Regions from separate parts of the Homo sapiens genome. Here regions 1, 2 and 4 are each linked to region 3. The links are contacts of gene promoters, found by promoter capture Hi-C in human tissues and cell types (Jung and others, 2019). All regions are on one chromosome and are shown on one strand. Each heading gives the region's core, a stretch centred on a gene start or on the middle of the fragment in contact. The rest is flanking DNA. Distances are from core to core; before and after follow the strand shown.

Evidence for each region. Contacts are between HindIII fragments. The study calls those that stand out against the background at their distance.
Region 1: a contact is called between a fragment that was not itself captured here and the fragment with the promoter of GGACT in region 3, in 1 of the 25 tissues and cell types used here (dorsolateral prefrontal cortex).
Region 2: a contact is called between a fragment that was not itself captured here and the fragment with the promoter of GGACT in region 3, in 2 of the 25 tissues and cell types used here (dorsolateral prefrontal cortex and thymus).
Region 4: a contact is called between a fragment that was not itself captured here and the fragment with the promoter of GGACT in region 3, in 2 of the 25 tissues and cell types used here (liver and mesendoderm cells).

The regions. Positions count from the first base shown.
Region 1 is chr13:100,809,463-100,813,663 of GRCh38, forward strand. All of the region lies in intron 2 of NALCN-AS1 (NALCN antisense RNA 1), which reads left to right. Among named protein-coding and RNA genes, the nearest start is that of NALCN-AS1, 100 kb to the left of the region's middle. The HindIII fragment of the contact is 3,944 bases long and covers 1-3,385 here.
Region 2 is chr13:100,732,164-100,736,342 of GRCh38, forward strand. The region is part of intron 1 of NALCN-AS1 (NALCN antisense RNA 1); the gene reads left to right. Among named protein-coding and RNA genes, the nearest start is that of NALCN-AS1, 26 kb to the left of the region's middle. The HindIII fragment of the contact is 5,237 bases long and covers 1-4,179 here.
Region 3 is chr13:100,586,688-100,590,295 of GRCh38, forward strand. It overlaps GGACT (gamma-glutamylamine cyclotransferase), which reads right to left and starts at 2,102. Exons shown (of 3, transcript NM_001195087.2): 1 at 2,054-2,102. RefSeq lists a silencer at 1,735-2,254. The HindIII fragment of the contact is 6,002 bases long and covers 521-3,608 here.
Region 4 is chr13:100,428,680-100,432,711 of GRCh38, forward strand. The region is part of intron 20 of PCCA (propionyl-CoA carboxylase subunit alpha); the gene reads left to right. Among named protein-coding and RNA genes, the nearest start is that of PCCA-AS1, 50 kb to the right of the region's middle. The HindIII fragment of the contact is 4,793 bases long and covers 1-4,032 here.

The DNA of each region.
Region 1 (4,201 bases), core at 164-2,663, 220 kb after region 3:
AAGAAAAGATGTTTATTTGGGAAGAGAGCATTGCAACGGGAATATGAATGCCGTAATATACTATGTATGTATTCAGGGAGGTAGAAGAAGAAAAAGGCTTTGAAAGGAAAAAATGAAGAGGATTACATCATTGTTTTGAAATAATTATTCTTGGCTACAAGGATCAACAGGGGTGATGCCAGTGTGGGGTTAGACAGGCAGCTACTGGGCAGATGTCTTTCCAGTAGTATTTTTGTGAGTATGGTTGTGATGGTCTTTGTGCAAGGTTGTGGCTTTTGTAGTCTTTTTTTTAAATTTCAACTTTAAAATTTTAGATTCAGGGGGTAAACACACCGGTGTGTTTCATGGGTATATTGTGTGATGCTGAGGTTTGGAGTGTGACTGATCCTGTCATCCAGGTAGTAAGCATAATACCCAGGTCTTTTTCATTATCAGGACTGCTAGCAGGAGAACCCTTTCTTCATGGCCTTGCCTGGCTCTATTTGTCAGGATTTATTTTAGCATTAGTGGCTCCATTTTGATTCAGACACCTTTCACAAAGTGAACGGGTGTCTTTATACATGGCAGGGTGCCAAGTCATGCTCCAGCTTCCCTGGGAGAAGGTGGGTTCCCATCAGCAGTGGCAGACTGATGACACATAGCACAGAGACACCGAGAGAGAATCTCTTTCCAAAGGAGGAACCAGTTTATTTAGGGAGAAAAATTGCTTTGGAAAGAGAAAAACTCTCTCGCCTGAAACCCAAGAAAGGAACATACCAAAACCTTCTGTTGTTTGCTAAATAAGAGCAAAGTTGTGTATAATAAGGCAATTTTAACAGGGAATTATCAGCAGGACATAAATGGACGGTGGGTGGGGTTTCTAATGGGTATCATGGAAGACAGATTTTCTTTGCATTAAAATTTGGTCTTGTTTTGTATTGTTTAATTATGATCATTTCAGATCCACAGTCACTTGAGTTCTTGTAAATAAATCCAGGCTCTTTTGTGTATACTCTAACAGTGGTGGTTCGTTGCTCTATCCTGCCCTGCCGTGGCTTTGTTATATCACAAAATCCAGCAAGAATTTATCTTGCTGCTAATAAAATCAGAAGATGGCCCAGAAGAAGAAGACAAGGATTTTGTCTTCTTTGAGGTTGCCCCATCTCTAACCAGTGACAGAAATGGCAGACCCAATTTAGGTCACCTTCTACCATGTCTCTTAGGATTTGTGCCTGCAGCATCATAAACAAAAGTGGCACATGGAAATGACAAAGACAGCCTGACACAGTCCTTTTGATATACGTGTATTGTTTGTGCTCTATGTTCATGCAATTACGTAAGATATTTATTTCATAAGGAGGACTTTTGAGACTCTAGTGTAGATGTTGATTACTAAGCCTTGACTATCTGTACTTGAAAATAAACTTAATATAAATTTTAATCTATCTTTTATGTTTACATGCATCATAGAGTGATTTTTACATGCAAGATTTTGGTAAAATTGGATGGGATCTTTATTCTGGAGTCTCTGTGTGGCTATAAAAGACATTTTCTCTTTTCCTTTTTTTTTTTTTTTGCCTGGTATGTTGAATCTTTCATATCCCTTAGCTTCAGTATACATGAATTGATGATTGAATAAATTAAGGATAAGCACACTGTTCTGTTCTTCTAAAACCTTTATTTATTGCTGTGATTTATCTGACAATTTACATAAAGTGCTAGTTAGTACAGCTGAAATTATTAATTCTTCAGAGAATGAGATGTTCAACTGTTTCCACAGCTCCAGGCAAATTTTCCACATTGATATGCAGGAATTACACAGACCACAACTCGTTTTTTGAATTAAAATGCATCATTGATGCTAATTTTAAGGAAGTCTGTATATTGTACTCCTATTTAACCAAACATCACATTTCCTCATTAAAATATCAGCATCCATAATGAAGCACTTTGCATTATAATTTAAAATGTCCCACTATGTTGAATGCACATTTGAACATTTAAATGTAATTCTGCTAATGTACTGATTAATTTATGTTATTCTCTTCCACTCACGTGGCAGATTTTAATTGCAATTAGTTAGCTGCTGTCGGGTCTCGGCATGCTGAAGGCTGGGGGAAGTCCTGATCGGGGTAGAACAATTACCAGGACTTTTGAGCAGGGCTGGTATTAGAGGGAGCGAGCGAGAGCACCCATCAAAGTTGTGAATCTTAATTCTCCTGGTAATAGCTATGCTTGGGGGGCCAGCATTTGCTCTGAGGAAAAAGCCAAATAAATGGGAATTATCCGAGCACTATAATACAATTAAGCTGTCACAACAACTTTGGGGACTGATCTTTTGTACTCTTTCCACGTTCATCCCGGCGGCTTGGGGGCTGATGTAGCCGGGAACGTGCTCTCTCCGGCATCCTGGGCTTTTGATGTGTGTGATGTACAGCTGTAACAAGGCATGGGGTACAACACCCGCCTTTCACTCAATGTTGTTGAGCTACAGATTCATGTAATTAATTTTAAAAAGCCATTACTTTGATCTTCATAAATATGCCCAGGATTCAAATGGAAAACCTCAAGGGGAATTTTCTCAGGAGGATGATATGGCCAAAATGCAATTTCATTAGGGTCTACTACTTGTCCCTAAATGAGGCTGCCCCCACCGGCCCCAGCTTTTATTTCAGTGGCTGCTATTACCAGCTGCACTGCTATATTATGCAGAAAATCTGCTTGCTTACTCTGCAAACAAACTGCCTTGGTTCAATGAGCTATTCGTAATGTTATGCTAAGCTTTGTGATATATTGCTATAATTTGGTGTAAAGCACTTTTAGTTCTTACACTGGTTTTATTATGTTAAGTATAGGGCACTGGTGTTTAGAAATGAGATGAAAACATAATCCTTGAGGTATTCACTATTAGTGAGGCACAGAGGAGGGGGCTCTGGGCCCCTTGAACTTGGGTTCTAGTCCTACTTCTATCACTTCATGGTCTCTGTGAACCGCTGTGCTCTTAGCTCTCAGATGAGGATAGAATGAACAATTCCTAGCTCAGGTTTATTTTGTGGGTCACATTACAAACATGGGGAAAAGAGGTCTGTAAAATTAGAGCAGAATGTGCACCTAAGGCTTGATGTTATAGTAGCACCTTACTTTTGTTTTTTATTGGCATGACTTAAAATTCTGACAAAAATACTGTTGAGAGAGATGGAGCTCCAAACTGCCAGCCTCCTTCTTAAGTAAGTAATTTCTAAAAATCCTGGTAAGTAGTAGAATTGAGCAGTGACAGTATTAACTGTGGTTAAATTGTAGAATTTTTGGAAGAGATTATGAAAGCTGACTCTACCCTCATTCAATAAAATGCATCAACATTGCAGATGATCCCCAAATTTCAGTGGCTTAACACAGCAGAAGTATACTTCTAGCTCATGCTGCATGTTCCAGGGTCCACAGGGACCCAGGTGAATGGAGACCTAATTTTTTTTTTTTAAATTGTAGTAACACATGTGTGTTTCTGAGGCCTCCAAGATGGGGGAAAAAAGGGATTCCAGGGGGCTGGGAGATGTCCCCAAACACCAGTGGGGCCTCAACCCCAGTCGGTGTCCAGGCTCTTGACAGCATCTTGAGAAGGAATTCAAGGATGAATTGTAAAGTAGTGAAAGTATGGAGATTTATTGCAATGTGAAAGGTATACACTCAAGAAAGGGGAGTGCAGGAGTATTCAAGAGAAAGCCATGCTCAAGGGGGTTTGGGGCTGCTGCCTTTATGTGTTTGTTTAAACAAAGGAATATTCAGGACAATTCCTGGAAAAAGGTGGAGACTTCTTGGAACTGTGGTGCCACCCATTTTTACACCAAATACTGGTTTTCCCGGAATGGTCACAGCACTGGCTGTGTTTAATATATTAATATATTTAGCATATTAATGAGTGTATCACAAACTCCTAGGAGAAACCTAGGTCAAATCCAGTGCCATGTTGGGTCTAGTTGGTCTTAGTCTTAGCTTGGCCCACACCCTGGTTGTGCAGAGTCTTACAGCCTCAAGCTTCTGCAGCTACTTCAACAGTTTTCCTTTTGCTAATCAGGTTAAACTGCTGCTGGCAATTTTCTATTCTCCTGCAACCACCCTGAATGACCCCTGTCTCAGGGGGACACAGGCACAGGCCCTTACATGCTTACTCCTGGAAAGGATGCAAGAAACCTATGCTCACTTCTCATAGCCCAAGGGACATGCA
Region 2 (4,179 bases), core at 1,259-3,758, 150 kb after region 3:
CTTAGTTATATTTATGGAATTCACTGGTATGTTTGGGTTTATTCTTATTTTCTTAATTTGTGTTCTCCTACTGGGCTTTCTAGTTGCCTTTAATTAGTGGTTCATTTTTCCACTTTTACTTTCTGTAAGTTGGAAATGTACATATTTTATATCAAATACTTAAATACTTAACATGGTCTAGAATTAATAATTACCTAGAAATTATCTAGAATTAATAAGCTTTGTCTGCAATTATCTTTTTCCTCTGCTTTCCTCAGTCCCACTGAGAAGAAAAACTTTACTGACCTTTTAGTTTTCCCTACTTAAAATCTCACCTGCTTCCATTGCTTTTAACATTGCATGGGATGTCAAAACATAAAGCTTAAACATTTACTACTTATTTTAATGTAAAAATAAATTTTACTATTGTGTTTATAGCTCATTGCATTATACCTGTCATCTCTTCCTTCTGGAACCGTCCCTCCCACTGCCCCATAATTTTCAGTAATTCTTCCAAGGAGGATCATTGGATAGTAAATTTTATGGGATTTTACGTATCTGCAAATGTCTTTATCTTAATTTTAGAAAGTTTTATAATTTCAACTTTTATTTTGGATATAGGGGTACATGTGCAGGTTTGTTACATGGGTAAATTTAGTGATGCTGAAGTTTTGGGGACAAATGATCCCCTTACCCAAGTAGTGAACATAGTACCTAATAGGTAGTTTTTCAGCCCTTGGCCCCCTTCATCTCTCCCCCCTCTAGTAGTCCCCAGTGTTTATTGTTCTCATCTTTATGTCTGTGTGTACCCGATGCTTAGCTCCCACTTATAAATGAGAACACATGGTATTTGGTCTTCTGTTCCTGTGTTTACTTAGGATAATGGAGGTTGCTGCAAGAGACATGATTTCATTATTTTTATGGCTGCACGGTATTCCATGGTGTATATGTACCACATTTCCTTTATCCAGTCCACCGTTGATGAGCATCCAGGTTAATTCCATGTTTTTGCTATTGTGAATAGTGCCGCAGTGAACATACGTGCGCATGTGTCTTTTTGGTAAAAAGACTTATTTTTCCTTTGGGCATATACCCAATAGTGGGATTGCTGAGTCTAATGGTAGCTCTGTTTTAAGTTATTTGAGAAATCTCCAAACTGCTTTCTACAGTGGCTGAACTAATTTACATTCCCACCATTGGTGTATAAGCATTCCCTTTTCTCCGCAACCTCGCCAGCATCTGTTAGTTTTTGAATGTCTTTATTTTAAAGCAGGTGTCAGCAAGCCCTTTTAAATGGTCCAAATAGTAAGTATTTTAGACTTGTGGCCATATGGTCTCAGTTGTAATTATTCAGCTCTGCCAAGGTAGTGCAAAAGCAGCCACAAATGATACCTACATAAATAATGGGTGTGACTGTATTCCAAAACAATTTGTAAAAATGGGGCTGGTCCATTGGCTATAGTTTGCCGACTTCAATTTTAAAAGATAGCTTGTCTGGCTAGAACATTTTAGGTTCAAAATTATTTTCCTTTAGATATTGAAGATAATTGCTCCAAGGTCTCCCTGTGCCCATGGTTATTGTCAAGAAGGCTGAGGTCAATCAGATTTTTTTTTTTTTTTTTTTGAGATGGAGTCTCACTCTTGTCACCCAGGCTAGAGTGCAATGGCTCACTGAAACCTCCACCTTCTGAGTTCAAGCGATTCTCATACCTCAGCCTCCCAAGTAGCTGGGATTTCTGGTGCCCACCACCACACCTGGCTAATTTTTGTATTTTTAGTAGAGACGGGTTTTCAGCATGTTGGTCAGGCTGTTCTCGAACTCCTGGTCTCAGGTGATCCACCCATCTCAGCCTCCCAGAGTGCTGGGATTACAGGCATGAGCCACCATGCCTGACCATATTATTTTTCTTTTGTCAATAACCAGTTTATTCTTCCCCAGAAGATTTTAAGGATTTTCTTTTTATTTTAATGTTGAAGTTTCTTCATGGATTTTCAACTGTCAACTCCCAAAATATCTATCAAAATAACCTTTTGATAAAGCAAAGCTAAGTTTATTAAACTTACTGTAAGGGAGACCATCACTTTGAGACCTTAGCAATGGCTCAAAGGGAGAAGTAAGGAGAGGATATTTATAGCATTTTGGTGTCTGAGCTCATGAGATTTGAGGCAGTTCTTTCAAGCTGGGGAATTGACTGGGATGAGCAAAGTTCGTAACTGATAGTTTAGGATTGTGGCCACAGTGAAGCTAGGGGCTCAAAGCAAATATTTATAAGTAAACTGTTTGATAAAAGAGCTCTTTGCCCAGATGAAAACATGGCTGTCCTGTGAGGAAAACTGGCCAGATGCACAAACTATTTGCCCAGACAAACTGGTTTGCAGGAATTTCCTAAAGTAAATAGCAGTTATTTATTGGTTTACAGCTTTATCTTTCTGGGCAAGGATTTCCTGGAGCAAATAATTAAGTTATGTTGAAACAGGTGGTCTTTGTCCTTGGTCCTAATATTTAAGCCATGTGGATGCAAATGTTCTCTCTTCTCAACTGTGTCTGGATAATTTTAAAAATATTTATCCTGCTGGGTATTGATGGCTTCTTTCAGAGACCTCATGTCTTACTTCGATTCTGTACATTTCTAATCAACTATTTCTTAAAATTTTATTTACTTTTAATTTCTCCAGGCTCTTCTTTTGTAACTCCTATTACATGGATGCTGGAACTAGATTTATTCTACAAATCTCTTAATTTTTGTGTCATTTTGAGCAAATTCCATGGTTCCATTTTCCAATCTATTTGCCTCTCAGCTGTGCTTATTTTGTTTTTCACCCACGTACTAGGTTTTTAAGTTTCAACAATTAAAATGTTCATCCAATAGTTTTGATTGGTTCTTTTTTCTTTGAGATGGGGTCTTGCTCTGTTGCCCATACCGGTCTTGAACTCCTGGGTTCAAGCGATCCTCCTGCCTTGACCTACCAAAGTGCTGAGATTACAGGCATGAGCCACCACGCCCAGACTCTTTCTATTCTTGTGATCGCACACATTATGTCCTTAAATATTTAAAGATATTTTATATGTGCATGTACACACACACACACACACACACACTTACACACACACTGCTTCTATTCACCAACCTACTTCTTTAATGAAAGTTTTTCCTTTTTCACTTATTTCTATCTTCTGATGCTGGATCTGCTGGAATATTTGATTCTGCTTATGTAAATCAATGCCAAGTTTCCCTGTTAGAAGATCTGCTATAATAGTTCACGCAGATGATTGAGATGGGGTGGGAACTGCCATTGTTGCTGCTGCTTTACACTGGCTTTAGTGAGCCTGGCAGAGGCTCCTGTGGTGTGTAAGGAGATGACATCTCACAGTGGGTCTTTAAGGCATATCTGGGGCATTGCGCTGCGTCTCTTGCTCCCAGAGTTCCTGTACCTGCTGCTCTGGGGAAGGCAGGCATATCTGGGGCATTGCGCTGCGTCTCTTGCTCCCAGAGTTCCTGTACCTGCTGCTCTGGGGAAGGCATACACTTGCATCCATGGGTGCAGGTGCCCTGCCCGGAGGCTGCCCTACCACGCTGCGCTCACCTTGGCCACTCTGAGTTCCTCCTCCTCTTTCTGGATCCCCCCTTCTTGGTCGGGGGCACCCCTTGAGGCTCACAGCAGAATTCTCCCACTCCCAGCTAGGCTGCAGTTTTTCTTCTTTATGCCTGCCTACTTTCCAATTTTAAGAGATTCTGGGCCGAGCACAGTGGCTCACGCCTGTAATCTCAGCACTTCGGGAGGCCGATGTGGGCAGATCACAGGGTTAGGAGTTTGAGACCAGCCTGGACAACATAGTGAAACCCCGTCTCTACTAAAAGTACAAAATGTAGCAGCCGGGCATGGTAGCATGCGCCTGTTGTCCCAGCTACTCGCGAGATGGAGGCAGGAGAATTGCTTGAACCTGGGAGGCGGAGGTTTCAGTGAGCCGAGAAGGTGCCACTGCACTCTAGCTTGGGCAACAAAGCTAGACTTCATCTCAAAAAGAAAAAAAGAGATTCTGTATCGTTCTGGTTCATCCAGAGTTTGTGTTCTTCTTTCCAATCATGACTATGCCCTTACGTGTTTACTTTTTTATATCTTTTTAATGATTTCTATGAATGTCATGTAGGAGGGATTAGTAATCTGTTTTGGAACATTTTTTTTAAATGTCAAATGAAA
Region 3 (3,608 bases), core at 852-3,351:
TCAGTTCCAACAGCACACTGCCTCTGGTTTCATTCTTCGCTACGTTCTAGCTATTTACCAGGTCTGTTACCTCATGATGCCATACAATCCCAGAGACTTCCAATAGCTAAGTCTTTTCTGTAAATCCATTTAAGGGGGTATCACGATGCCTTTTACGGAGCAAGCTCCGCAGTCCAGGGGCAGGTCCTCACGGCCTAAACACGGCTGCCTTATCCTGAGTAGTTTTACTGACAATAGAGCTTCAACTGAAGAATGAATTCCTGTTCAGCAGGACACTGGGCAGTCATGTTTAATTGAGAACTCTTAAAATTCCTAATAGAGTTTGCCTAGATGGAGGATGTTCTAAAGAGGGCTGCGAATATTTCGTGTTTCTGTCCTCTTACTGTCACCTTTCCTTGGGTCCTGTCCCCTCTTCAAGCATGGCTGCACTACACTTCCACACCAGCCTGCTGGTGTCCTAATCACTGGTAAGGGCCCTGGCTCGAGGTGGATACAAAGCCTCCCAATGACTTCACTTCAAGAATGGACACAGATTGGAAATCTTACTAGTAAAGAGAGAAATGAACAGATCATTTTAAAATCCCTCTTCTATTCTGCTTACTGCTACCTACTATCCAGATCACCACAAACAACCACCCTCTCCTAACTAGTAGTAGTTAGGGCCTGGTTAGTAAAATCAACTAGCCCAAAGTATTTCCGTACAAAAATCCACCAATTAGAAATTAATTTAACTTTGCAAACTCAGCTTTTACAATACGAATCTCTGCTAGAACACAGTGGTCTGCTTATTCAGGGAAGTCTGGCTTCTTCTGGGAATAGTTTCAGGAAAACAAGGCATTTTGGGAAAATACGGGCAAACTGCAGGTGCTCTTCATCTGAGCATTTCAATAAATTGAATGAGGCCAGGGAAAAGTCTTCACTTACAGGTAAATGTACATAAGGACACCTACGTGTGTGTAAGACCTACACTTTAAATAGGTCACCTTTAGTTTTTCATTAATCATTTCTCCTGGGACATTTAGCAAAACGAATAACTTGCTTTTAAAAAAGGCCACAAATCCCGGGTGCAGTGGCTCATGCCTGTAATCCCAACATTTTGGGAGGCCAAGGCGGGCGGATCACGGGGTCAGGAGTTCGAGACCAGCCTGGCCAACATGGTGAAACCCTGTCTCTACTAAAAACACAAAAATAAGCTGGGCGTGATAGCAGGCGCCTGTAATCCCAGCTACCCGGGAGACTGAGGCAGGAGAATCGCTTGAACCCGGAAGGCAGAGGTTGCAGTGAGCCGAGATCGCGCCACTGCACTCCAGCCTGGGCAACAGGGCAAGACTTCATCCCAAACAATAAAAAGGGCCAGAAATCGACTGCATTTTCTTATCACTTAAATATTAAATCAACTAAGCGTGGAGTTAAGAAGCTGTGTTCAAAAAACACTTAAGTCTGCTTTTGAGCTTGTGGCGTTGTCCTTGGCCCACAGAGTAAAACAGCAATGATAACCATAATTAATAATCAAGGCAGTAAATTTCTTCAAAATTTCAGAAGTTTCACTAATGGCTCCAAAGAAACCTTAGATCAGAAATTCACAAGTGCCAGGAGACGTTTTTAGATTTCTTTTGCAGCTTCTAGTCTCCTTACAAACAGGAAATCTTTAAAATGAAAAACAATTTCTGAGAAGTGTTAGCCCGGTTCAGCTGAGGTCCTCTGAAAGCCAGCGTGTGGGCTGTCACGCTTCCTTTACAGGGAAGCAGCGCCCGTGCGTGAGGCGGTTCCTGGCTTTTACCGCCCTCTGCCCGTTCTGGCAATCGCGCCCGTGGCCCCCGCGCGGGGCAATGGAGGACGCGTTTCGGGGTCCACCGTCCCCTCCCTCCGGCTGGCCTCGCCGGCCGGCGGCGCCCCAGGCCTCCTCCCTCACCCGCGGGGACGCCGAGTGCTGCGGCCTCGACCCGGACGCCGCGCAGGGAGCGACGCCCCAGGTTCCCGCGGGCGCCAGGACACCCCGCCTGGGGGGCGGAGCAGGCGCAGCCCCGACCCCCGCCCGGGCTCAGCGCCTCACCTGCCGGCAGCCGGGGCTGTCGGGGAGGGCAGGGCCAGGGCGGAAATGCAGGGCCGGGCCCGCGCCTCTGCTCCCAGGCCGCCCCCGGCGGCGCCCCCTGCAGGCGGAACGCGAGGCCCGCCAGCCCCTGCGGCGCCCTCGCACACACGTGGCCGCTCGCACAACTGGCCGCCTAACAGCCAGACCCACCCACGCCGATGCCCGCCGGAGACGCCCCGCCGCAGACACAGCGCAACCAGCTTCACACACCTGGGGACGCCCCACAGAAGTCACATCCACCCTAACACACCTGGGCACTCAGGCTCAAGCCCCGACTGCATGGTGGACCCTGACACACCTGGGCCACACCCCACAAAACAGACTCACAGACGACTCCACAAGCTTGGGGACACGCCACATCAAATGGACACACATGCACACACAAATGAACCCAAGCGCAGACACACTTGGGGATGCCAACCATGTGTGTATCTATCACATCACACACCACCAAGGCCCCCCAGCTGGGCATGCACACAGCCCTGATACCGAGTCCAGACCGCCATCTAGTCACACTGCCCACTTACTTACCAATACTCTTAAAATGAAACTGTGGCCGAAGGAGACAATGGAAGGATGACATCACCTCTTCCCTAGCTCCAGGACTAATTTAAGCCCCAGAAATTATAGGACTGAGAACCAAAATCGAAAGAGAACATTTTCCCTAGAGACAATGGGTTAAAGCAATGCCACTTGGGGGCCAGGTGGTAGGAATGGTACAGCTATGGAGAGAGTGACACTTCTGTCTCTCCGAAAGACACAAATCTGTGTTTATCAGATTAGCAATAATCCCCCTTAATCATTTCCTGCCCTTTCTACTTTCTCATGGATGTGGACTGATTGAAACCTTTATATAAACTGGTTTTTATCCAAACGTTTCCAACAATGCAGATGTAATTGTATTTTGAACAGATGTACAATTCCAAAAGAAATCTAAACCATCAGGTACATAAGTCGTTGGTTTTCACAGTTTTTTCTTGTCTTGGACACTTCATAATTAAATTGAAATGTATTAAAAAACCTTGTCTAGCTCATATTAATATTTTTTTTTTTTTTTTTTTTTTTTTTGAGACGGAGTCTCGCTCTGTCGCCTAGGCTGGAGTGCAGTGGCGGGATCTGGTTCACTGCAAGCTCCGCCTCCCGGGTTCACGCCATTCTCCTGCCTCAGCCTCCCAAGTAGCTGGGACTACAGGCGCCCGCCACTACGCCCGGCTAATTTTTTGTATGTTTAGTAGAGACGGGGTTTCACCATTTTAGCCAGGATGGTCTCGATCTCCTGACCTCGTGATCCGCCTGCCTCGGCCTCCCAAAGTGCTGGGATTACAGGCGTGAGCCACCGCGCCCGGCCTCATATTAATATTTTTAAAGACAGCAGTAATTCTTAACTTTTTGAAGCGAAAGAATGATTCCACTTTCATCTCTTTTTTGAGGGGGGAAAATCATGTCAGCAAAGGAAAGTGAGACAAATAGATAAATAATTCTTCTGATAAAGGAAAATTAAAGATGACGCAGACTA
Region 4 (4,032 bases), core at 559-3,058, 160 kb before region 3:
CCCACCCATAGCTTACTCTGATTTAGCAGGTCTGGGCTAGGTCTGCATTTCTGGCAAGCCCCCAGGTAATGCTGCTGGTCTGGGCCACATTTGGACACCCTCTGCTTTAAACCTTTGTAGTCAGAGAATGAGCTGAGGAGTGGTGTGCCCCAGCAAGGTGGGTAGGAACCGAGTCACATGAGCCTTATTAAGGACATAGGAGAGGCTCTACTTTATCCCTAGGTCAGTAGGGACCCGTGGAAGAGCTTTCAGTAAGGAAGTGATGATTGAACAGAATTGTAGCTTACGAGGTTTTTTTGGTTTTTGGCTGCTTTGTGGAGAGTGGCTTGAAGAAGCATGAGGTGAAGATTGGAGGCAAAGAGAGAAGTCAGCAGATGTTAGGGATTCGGAGGTAAGAAGTCTCAGCAGCTGTGGGGATGAGGGCACTGTGTGCAGAAGGGATCTGCAAGCGTGACAGGAGAAAGAACTGGTGGCTTTACAGTCATCTGCTGATTTCTCTTCTGACCACTGTTAGCATGGGCAAACCTCCAAATTCTATTCCTGACTCCCCCTTTTCTCTCTCTGCTTGCTTCCTGGGCTGCATTGCTCCAAGAGTTCCAGCTTAACACCTCCAAGCAGATAGCTACGAAATGCAATTATAAGTGTTTGTGTGTCTCTTTGCAATTGTTTATTCTGAGAAATAAGGGATGAATATTACCAAAGGCATTTTTCAAGTGATTTTACAGTAATCACTTGAAATTGATTACTGTAGTAATTGATTACTATAGTAACTGTAGGTACTTTAAAGTAATAACTACAATTCTTTTTTCTCTGGATTTTTGAGCATACATATAAACTTTATATTCTTAAATAGTATTAAATATTACTATTTATCATTAACTTGTATCATTAAATTTTATTATTAAACCTCATTTAATATAAAATAATATGTATTATTATTATTTTGAGACACAGCCTCCCTCTGTTGCCCAGGCTGGAGTGCAGTGGTACGATCTTGGCTCACTGCAACCTCTGTCTTTCGGGTTCAAGCGATTCTCTTGCCTCAGCCTCTGGAGTAGCTGGGATTACAGACACGCACTACCATGCCTCGCTAATTTTTGTATTTTTAGTAGAGATGAGGTTTCGCCATGTTGGCCAGGCTGGTCTCGAACTCCTGACCTCAGGTCATCCACCTGCCTCAGCCTCCTAAAGTGCTGGGATTACAGGTGTGAGCCATCACACCCAGCCAAAAATATTTATTATATCTATATAAAAGCTAAAGAATGACCCAATGAAAACCTGTTTACCCACTATCTAGATTAAAAAAAAGAAAACAGGCTGGTCACTGTGGCTCACGCCTGTAATCCTAGCCTTTGGGAGGCCGAAGCAGGCAGATCACCTGAGGTTCGGAGTTCGAGACCAGCCTGACCAACGTGGAGAAACCCCGTCTCTACTAAAAATACAAAATTAGCCAGGCATGGTGGCGCATGCCTGTAATCCCAGCTACTCAGGAGGCTGAGGCAGGAGAATCCCTTGAACCCGGGTTGTGGTGAGCTGAGATCGCGCCATTGCACTCCAGCCTGGGCAACAAGAGTGAAACTCCGTCTCAAAAACAAACAAACAAACAAAAAACCAAAACATTATCAGTGCTATTTGTATCATTCTTCCTTGATTAAATCCTCCTTTCCAGTGTCCCTGAAGAACACCATTATGAGTTTTAAATTGATCACTACCTTGCTTTTCTTTAGGGATATTTATGAATACACCAACACTGTGAGCAGTATCTTGTTGAGCTGCTCTTGTTTTTGAACCTTGTAATTGCCCCCATCCTCTCTGTGTTCCTCCAGGAGTTGTCTTCTCCCCACCAGCATGATGTTTGTGAGCCTGGCCCATGTTGCTGCCTATAGCTGCAGTTTATCTACTTCCATACATCATATTAATATTACCACCAATTACTTATTCTCCTCTAAATAGACATCTGTGTTATTTTCCTTATTTTGTTGTCACAGTGATGCTTGTATGAACACCCTACTTCCTGTTTCCTCTTGACATAGGAGGTTCTCCAGGTCATGTGCCGGTATAACAGCCATGCTGTGGGGCCTGTGCTTTCTCATTCCTGCATGGCAAGGCCAGGTGGGTTTCTCTGTGTGGCTGTACCAGCTTATGTGCCCATCAGTAGTGAAGATGATAGTCACAATGAGAACAATGAACTAACCTTATTCTGTACTTATTATGCCCGGCACTGACTGTTCTAAGCACTTTGTATGTATGAATGCCCCCAAAAACCCAATAAAGTACGTACTAGTGTTATCCCTCATTTTGTATTTGGGAAAACAGAAGCTTGTAGAGGCTAAATTGCTTTCCCATCTGGTAGTAAATGGGAGTGCCAGAATTTGAACCAAGGAATCTGTGCCCTTAACATTTTTTTTCACATCCTGGTGAACCCTTGGCCTTCCCAGACTACTTAGGTTTTTCCTGACTGGTGGGTTTAGATGGCATCTCATTATGGTTTTAATGTATACTTCCCTGATTAGTATGACAATGAACATTGAAAATATATATTTATTGGCTCTCTTGTTTTCTCTTCTGTAAAATATCTGCTCATGACTTTTGCCCACTTTTTAAATTGGATTATCTTTTTCTTATTGACTCATAAAAGTTCTTCCTGCGTTATGGCTCCTTTTTGTCGTATGTGTTGATAAAGTAGCTTCTGTTTTTATTGTTTTAAGTTATCCAAGTTAAGTTTTAAGGCAAGATTTAATGTCAGAATTTTCAATATTTTCCTTTATGGTTTGTGTGTTTTGCGTTTGTGTAGATAATCTTGTTCTACTCCTAAGCTCACAAAGATACCTATATTTTCTTTTAAACCTTTTTAAATTGTGCTTTTCAAAGTTAACTACTTAATCCTCATGGGATTGATTTTTGTACACGGTATGAGTGGCTCACGCCTGTAATCCCAGCACTTTGAGAGGCCGAGGTGGGTGGATCACGAGGTCAGGAGATCGAGACCATCCTGGCTAACACAGTGAAACCCCATCTCCACTAAAAATACAAAAAATTAGCTGGGTGTGGTGGCGGGCGCCTGTAGTCCCAGCTGCGTGGGAGGCTGAGGCAGGAGAATGGTGTGAACCCAGGAGGCAGAACTTGCAGTGAGCTGAGATCGCGCCACTGCACTCCAGCCTGGGTGACAGAGTGAGACTCCATCTCAAAAAAAATAATAATAATAAATAAAATAAAATACAGATACCAGGCCGGGTGTGGTGGCTTAAGCCTGTAATCCCAGCACTTTGGGAGGCCGAGGCGGGTGGATCACCTGAGGTAAGGCGTTTGATACCAGACCAGTCTGACCTGTAACATGGTGAAACCCTGTCTTTACTGAAAATACAAAATATTAACCGGGGATGGTGGTGCACACCTGCAGTCCCAGCTGCTCAAGAGGCTGGACCCCTGCACTCCAGCCTGGGCAACAAAGCAAGACTCCATCTCAAAAATAAATAAATAAATAAATAAATAAACAAACAAACAGATAACTCGTTATGCCAGCACAATTTAATGATAGTCGTGCTTCTCTTCCCTTACTACCTTGCCACCACCTCACCTTTCCAACCCCGAAATTCTTTAAAAGCGGTTTCTGTGATTCTCAATTAATTGTAAATAAAAAGATGATTTTTCGCTTAATACGATCCTCAGTATATTTGCTTCTGTGAGCTCTCAGTCAGTTGCACTCTTTTATTTTTTGTTAATCTTCTGGAAACCCTTAGCCAAGGGCATCAGATGATATTTGAGATACACCTTAGAAAAACGTGTTTGTGAATCAACAGGCAAATTGGGAAGTATTCATTTAGGGAAGTAATGAGAGCTAAACATGGAAAAATAGGTTGGAGGACCAGATAGTGAATGAGAGCCTGAAGAATCTATGCTTTTCAGTCAGCAGTGGAGATATTACAACTTTTTGCAGAGTACAGTAACGTCCATCAAAATGCCATTGTAGAATATTAATGTGTCCTCATAATAGAGGAGGGGTTAAGGGATTGAAGGGTGAAGTGGAGATGG